Regions from separate parts of the Homo sapiens genome. Here region 1 is linked to region 2. Evidence: promoter capture Hi-C in 16 types of primary human blood cells and fetal thymus (Javierre and others, 2016). All regions are on one chromosome and are shown on one strand. Each heading gives the region's core, a stretch centred on a gene start or on the middle of the fragment in contact. The rest is flanking DNA. Distances are from core to core; before and after follow the strand shown.

Region 1 (3,384 bases), core at 429-2,928, 1.1 Mb before region 2:
TTCCTCTTCCATTTTGAGGTGGTCACACAAGCCACATATTGGTGTATATAAAGAATGGCCCCCAGTTTTTTTTAGTCCAAATACAAGTCTCTCTTCCTGGCTTAATGGGATGAGGGATTTGCTTCAAGAGTTGCAAGAGAAGGCTCTATAGCACCAACGGAGGGGCAACACATGTTATTTGTACCCTAGGGAAGGTGGTCAAATCACTTTATCTTTGGAACTGAAAGGTCCTAGGCCTTAGCAGAGAGTACTGACTGTCTGGGAATCAGAGGTAGAGGAGGAAGCAGAGGGGCATGGCGTTCACAACACAGCATCAGCCCTGTGCTCATCGTGAAGCCTGCCAATAACACCATGGACACAATGCCCCGGTTTCTGTTGCTCCTTACTGCTTGTGGAAATGGTACCTGTTGTAAAAAGTCAGTCCCTAAATTAAAACTTTGAAATTACAGATTTAAAATAGAAGCTGCATTTACAATGTTTATTCACTGTGGTGGTTATTGTGGGCTAGTGTTCCTGTCACTAAGTGATACAAAAATATCTGCTGCTGGAAATTCTAGAAACAGGTCTATACCTCTGCTATATAAATTCACTGGAATTTGGATTTGAGCTTTGTGTTTGATCTTTTTTTTTTTAAGGCACAGTTTTTTTGCATTTAAAATAGTTACTGCTGTAGTTGCTTACCTACAAAAATTCAGTGATTAGAATTTAAGTAAAAATTATGTGATGCTAGGGATTTTGCTTCAAAGTAGTCTGTTGGGAGAAATGGTGGAGATTGGCCACATGTTGATAATTCTTGAAGCTGGATGGTGCTTACTTAGGGGGTCATTTTACTGTTCTTTCTGCTTTAGATTATAGTTGAGATTTTTAATAATTTAAGACAGGGCTTCTGAGAAGATTAAGTGTTACAGGTTTCTATGAAGGTTTGAAGAGTCTCCAAATTGGTAGAAATACTGTCATAATCACTATCTTCAGTATGTCAGATAAAAATAATCCTGAAGGGTATAACAAATTATAAGTAACTATTTGCAGTATTTACTGGTTACAGAATTCTTCTACATTGAATACTTTATTTATTTATTTATTTATTTATTTATTTATTTATTTATTTATTTATTTGAGACGGAGTTTCGCTCTTGTTGCCTGGGCTGGAGTGCAATGGTGTGATCTCAACTCACTGCAGCCTCCGCCTCCCGAGTTCAAGTGATTCTCCTGCCTCAGCCTCTCAAGTAGCTGGGTTTACATGCACCCGCCACCACGCCCAGCTAATTTTTTTGTATTTTTAGTAGAGATGGGGTTTCACCATGTTGGCCAGGCTAGTCTTGAACTCCTGATATCAGGTGATCCACCCGCCTCGGCCTCCCAAAGTGCTGGGAATATAGGCGTGAGCCACCACGCCTGGCTGAATACTTATTTTAAAGAAGTGACCCATAGACTATGCCTTGAGAATAATTGTTTTTTTGTATGGGGATTTTGATTGTGATGGAATATGCAACTATATACATATATATATATATATTTTTAGCACAGTTTAGTATCATAGAGCTGTCTTTTACTCTCCTCTCAAAATCCTTGATAGTAAGTTAGAATGCTTATTATTTTCAGTATTATTTGGATGAAGAATTAATTTCATTCACTTACAGGTGGAGAAACTGAGACCTAGAAAGGGATTTGCCAGACATGTACAATCAAGTGACAGGTCTTTTTATATTCTAAAAATCTTGCTAGCCAGGTGTGGTGGCTCATGCCTGTAATCCCAGCACTTTGGGAGGCCAAGGCGGGCGGATCATGAGGTCAAGAGATCGAGACCATCCTGGCCAACATGGTGAAACCCCGTGTATACTAAAAATAAAAAAATTAGCTGGGCGTGGTGGTGCACGCCTGAAATCCCAGCTATTCGGAGGTTGCAGTGAGCTGAGGTCACACTACTACACTCCAGCCTGGCAATGGAGCGAGACTCTGTCTCAAAAAAAAAAAAATCTTGCTAACTTATTTTTCTGCATTTGGATGAGTTCAACAACTCCTATTCTTTCCTGCCACTGCCATAAAAAAGTCACAAATATATTTAAATGGTCATTTTAGAATTAAGGTTATACTTATCCAAGATCATATTTAAGTTATGTATATTAAAAAATCAAGAACTGGCCAGGTGCAGTGGCTCATGCCTGTAATCCCAGCACTTTGGGAGGCTGAGGCGGGCGGATCACGAGGTCAGGAAATCGAGACCATCCTGGCTAACACGGTGAAACCCTATCTCTACTAAAAATACAAAAAATTAGCCCAGCGTGGTGGCACACGCCTGTAATCCCAGCTACTTGGGTGGCTGAGGCAGGAGAATCGCTTGAACCTGGGAGGCAGAGGTTGCAGTGAGCCGAGATCGTGAGTGAAGTGGGACTAGTGAGAATATTTACCACTCTTAGGAAATTGAGAACTATTTTGATGCCCTATAGGGACATTACTGCCTCCCTAAGTTAGAGTGTCTTTTCTTACTTTGAGATGGGGGTCTCACTCTCTTGCTGGAGTGCAGTGGCATGATCTTGGCTCACTGCAGTCAACCTCCCCCAGGCTCCGGTGATCCTCCCGCCTCAGCTTCCCAAGCAGCTGGAGCTACAGGGGTGTGCTACCAGGCGCAGCTAATTTTTGTATTTTTAGTAGAGATAGGGTTTCGCCATGTTGCCCAGGCTGGTCTCAAATTCTTGAGTTCAAGCGATCTGCTGGCCTTGTCCTCCCAAAGTGCTGGGATTACCACACCCCGCCTAGAGTGTCTTTTCATTGACTTTCCATATAAGTCTAAGTTGACTGTTAAAATTCATATATTTTGGCCAGGTGTGGTGGGTCACACCTATAATCCCAGTACTTTAGGAGGTCGAGCTGGGAGGATCACTTGAGTCCAGGAGTTTGAGACCAGCCTGGGCAACACAGTGAGACCCCACTGCTACAAATTTTTTTTAAAAACTACCCAGGCATGGTGGTGCCTGCCTTTAATCCCAGCTACTTGGGAGGCTGAGGTGGGGAAACCACCCGAGCTCGGGAGGTTGAGGCCGTAATGAGCCATGATCACGCCACTGTACTCAGCCTGGGTGACAGAGCAAGACCCTGTCTCCAAAAAAAAAAAAAAAAAAAACGATATTTCTATTTTCAACAAGATATTTTATTTTGTCTTTTTGTACATGTCTTAAACTTATATGATCATTATTCTAATAATTTATATTTCTTTTTTGTCCCAGGTATTTACCACCAGAGTGTTTTGTGGTTGGGAAAGAACCACCAAAGATCTCAAATAAAGTTGATGTGTGGTCGGTGGGTGTGATCTTCTATCAGTGTCTTTATGGAAGGAAGGTAAGTTAGAAGGTTGATGGAGAAGCTTGATCTCTTTCTTGGGTGGCA
Region 2 (3,481 bases), core at 160-2,659:
AGAAGCCAAACAACGGCGTCAGGTCAGGTCAGGTCGGGGCTGGGTTGGCAGGCGAGGCGGGGGCGGGCAGGGCAGGGGCGCACCTGAGCTTGGTGTGACAGTGCTTGCAGCAGAAGCAAGAGTTGTGGAAAATGAGCTTGTCGGCCACCAGCCGCTCCATGGGGTACACGGTCTTCTGGCAGGCGGCGCAGGTCTCCTTCACCTGGGCCCGCAGGCTGAAGGACTGTGCGGGAAGCTCAGCCAGGTGCTGCCCCAGTGCTCATCCCGCTCCCTCACACCCCTCCTCCCGCACACCCGGCCCCAGGCCCCTACCTTGGAGCGCTGCACCGTGCTGCTGCCGCCGCCTTTGGCGTCCTGAGGGAGAGGGGCGGTCAGGGCAGGGGCAGCTCCGGGAGGCCCTGGATCAGGGCTGCAGCCATCAGCCCAAGGCCCAGGGGCGCGCCGCAGGGCACAAAGGGGGCCGGCAAACTCTGATGCCTCTCCCCTTCACCCCAGGCCAGGCTCCTGTCCGGGGGGCCCTCCCACCCAGCCGGGCACTTACATGAGAGGGGGTGGCCTGGGCGGCTCCTGCAGCCTGGAACATGGCTCGTTGGAGGTGGAAGCCTCGGGTGGAGAAGCGGCACCCGCTGGGTTCTGCAAGGGGAAGTCAGTCGGGAGGGCCCCGCCAGCCCGGCCCCAGCCTGCAGGGTGGGGGGTGTTGACAGGCAGGGGCTGGGGGGATTGCGGTTGGGACTTTCCCTAAGTCATTTCCTGTTGCTCTTGGTCTTGCCACTTCCGCCCCTCACCCACCTCCCCCACCCCTGCTCCCCAGGGGCCGGGGTCCCGAGTGGCACCGTCCCTCGGAAGAACAAAGTTAGCGGGAGCGGAGGGGCCGGGGGCTCCCGCGCAGCCGCCGTGTGCGTCCCGCGGGCTGGGACCGCTTGGGGTGAGGGGAGGTCGGGGCCGGCGGGGCCGCGATGAGAAGCCGCTGCCCCGACCTGACCCCGGCCCTCGCTGCCCTGCGCCGCGCCCGGGCGTCCAGGCCTAGGCTGCGCAGCCCCTGGACAGCGCCCGAGGTCCCCGCCCGCCCCGCCCCTCGGCCCCCGACCTGGCCCCGCGAGGACCGGACCCCAGACCCCGACGCCGCGAGCCCCGCCAGCGGGTCTCGGCTCCGCCCAGCCGGGGGCCGGCCCTGAAACGAGGACTCGAGCCTGTGCGCCCCGGGCGAGAGCGGCTCGCAGACTCGCCGGGACCCCACGGGCGGCCCTCACCCCACACCCCTCGGCGCCTCTCCCGGTTCCGGAGCCGGACGCGGCCCCTCCCCCCGCGGCTCTCACCAGGCCCGGCCTGGGCCGCGGGGCGGGATCGGTCTCCGGGGGCGCACGGGTACGAGGAGGGCGCGGGCGCGAGCTGCTGCCGCTACCAGTGGTCCCCGAGCCACCGCCGCCGCCACCGCCTTATCGCTGCACCGCCCCCGCCGGCCCCCGCCCCGCGCCCGCCCATTGGCTCCGCCGCGCCCGGAGCCGCCTTCGGGGCCCCGGCGCCGCCGCCGACCCCCCTCCGCGCTTTGTCTTCCCCTCGCCGCCGTCCCCGCCTTTGTCTGTCCCCCGCCCCGGCTCCGCGCTCCCGGCTCCGCAGCGCCCCGCGGGCCTCGCGCTCGCAGGCCTCGGGTACCGGCCGCGCCGTCTGCCCATCCCGACGGCGGCCCGGCGTGGGGAAGCAACGGTGGCAGGGACAGGATGGAAGGGCCGCGCTCCGCATCCTACTGGGAGGGGACGAGTTCAGGCTGCGGCGGCTGCGGTCGCGGGACACTGGGCGCTCCCGGCCTGGCTCCGGGATAACCGGGCGGGGCCTGGGCCATTCACTGCCTCGGTTTCCCCCGGTTGGCCTCGCGCGTAGGCGCCGGCGCCCCCATCCCCGCCCAGAGCTGTGGGGCCGCAGAGACCCAGCCGGGGCGACCCCGGAGCCTGGCCCGGGGTCCCTCGGGCGGCCGAGTCCTCCCGCCGCCAGGGGCCGCCCCCGCCCCTTTGCGGCCCACGAGGCTGGCGGCGGCGTCCGGGCACGCGGTCTCCAGGCCCGGCCGCGAGGCTGCGGGGAGGAGCCTGCACGAGGGCCCGGCAGCCCCGGCAGCCCCCCCAGCCCTCGGCGCCTCTGCAACCCTGCGACGGGCTGGGGAGGCCGGTATGCGTGGTTCCCGGAGCACCCGTCCCCCGAGGCTCCACGTACTCAAGCGTTTCTGGGGCGGAATTCTGTGGGCAGCAACGGGGGCCCCCTCTCCAACAAGCGCACCTCATTTCTCACGTGGGAGCCGCGGCCCAGAGAGCTGAGGTGACAGAGCTTGGGCCGCAGAGCTGCTCCCTCCCTGCAGCCGCACAGCAGGCCGGAGGCACAGCCGGCGAGAGACGGCCACTCGCTTTGGAGCGGCGGCGAGGCCGGCGCCTTCCCGGGCACCAGGGACTGCGTGGCTTGGCCGGAAATCAGGCTAGAAGCAGCTCCGGGAAGCACAGCCCTTAGCCCAGCGCCTTCCCACACTGTGGCAGGAATAGCACTGGCGGCCCACGCGCTTGTCAGGGAACAGAACAGCTCTCGCCCGACGCCTGGCAGGGGAGCAGGGAGGCTGCAGCTTCCCCAGCGACCAGCTGTTTCCCAGGCTGGCGGACTCCACGGACCGGCTCCGCGTCTCCTCTCCAGCCTTCTGTTCTCTCTAGAGGAAGATCTGCGTTTTGTCTGCACTGTGGGCCGACTCTCTAGTGGGGAGCGTCAGACCCTCTAAAGTGGCTGCCTCTCGGGAAAGCTTCCACACCTGTCATCAGATTCTCCAAAGGGGCTGTTTGATGCAAGAAACGGGAAGCCCCGGGGGTACTAGGAGCAGGGCTTGCTGCCATTGGGCATGGTGAGGCCCCGGCACCCTGCCCAGGACGGGCCTGTGGGCTGAGCTGCAGATGGGCATTGAGGATGCCCCAACAGCAAGGTGCAGAAGGCATCCAGAAGCAAAGGAAACTGATGACCAGCGTCAAAAACAAACAAAAAAAGGGAACTTGGCTCGGCGGTGGCTCACGCCTGTAGTCCCAGCACTTTGGGAGGCAGAGACAGGTGGATCACGAGGTCAGAAGTCCAAGACCAGCCTGGCCAACATGGTGAAATCCCGTCTCTACTAAAAATACAAAAATTATCCAGGCGTGGTGGTGTGTGCCTGTAATCCTAGCTACTCGGGAGGCTGAGGCAGAAGAATCGCTTGAACCCGGGAGGTGGAGCCTACAGTGAGTCAACATGAAGCCAGTGCACGCCAGCCTGGGCGACAGACTCTGTGTTTGTGTGTGTGTGGGGGGGGGAGGGCGGGGCGAGGCGAAGGGAACTTGAGGTTTAAAGCAGGGGGAGGAGGGCCGGAAATGCTCCCCGCCGCCCCCGACACTCACTCGCCCCAGGCCCCATCCTAGCCCAGGGTCAGTGTCATTCCCTTCACCTTAGCCTCTCACTGCCCAAAGAGGCTTACTTTTCTTCT

Evidence for each region. The method cuts DNA at HindIII sites, captures the fragments that hold promoters and counts their contacts. A CHiCAGO score of 5 or more calls a contact.
Region 1: a contact is called between a fragment that was not itself captured here and the fragment with the promoter of LIMD2 in region 2, in 1 of 17 cell types (erythroblasts). The highest score is 6.0, in erythroblasts.

What each region holds. Positions count from the first base shown.
Region 1 is chr17:62,602,906-62,606,289 of GRCh38, forward strand. TLK2 (tousled like kinase 2) reads left to right here. Exons shown (of 22, transcript NM_006852.6): 20 at 3,225-3,336. Among named protein-coding and RNA genes, the nearest start is that of MRC2, 23 kb to the right of the region's middle. The HindIII fragment of the contact is 3,362 bases long and covers 1-3,359 here.
Region 2 is chr17:63,698,716-63,702,196 of GRCh38, forward strand. It overlaps LIMD2 (LIM domain containing 2), which reads right to left and starts at 1,410. Exons shown (of 5, transcript NM_030576.4): 1 at 1,317-1,410; 2 at 542-633; 3 at 313-354; 4 at 84-223. The coding sequence starts at 583. It overlaps LOC729683 (a long non-coding RNA gene), which reads left to right and starts at 1,623. Exons shown (of 1, transcript NR_046273.1): 1 at 1,623-3,481. RefSeq lists silencers at 289-518, 609-1,068, 1,159-2,118, 3,309-3,388 and enhancers at 1,823-2,408, 2,409-2,993, 2,789-2,888. The HindIII fragment of the contact is 14,945 bases long and covers 1-2,771 here.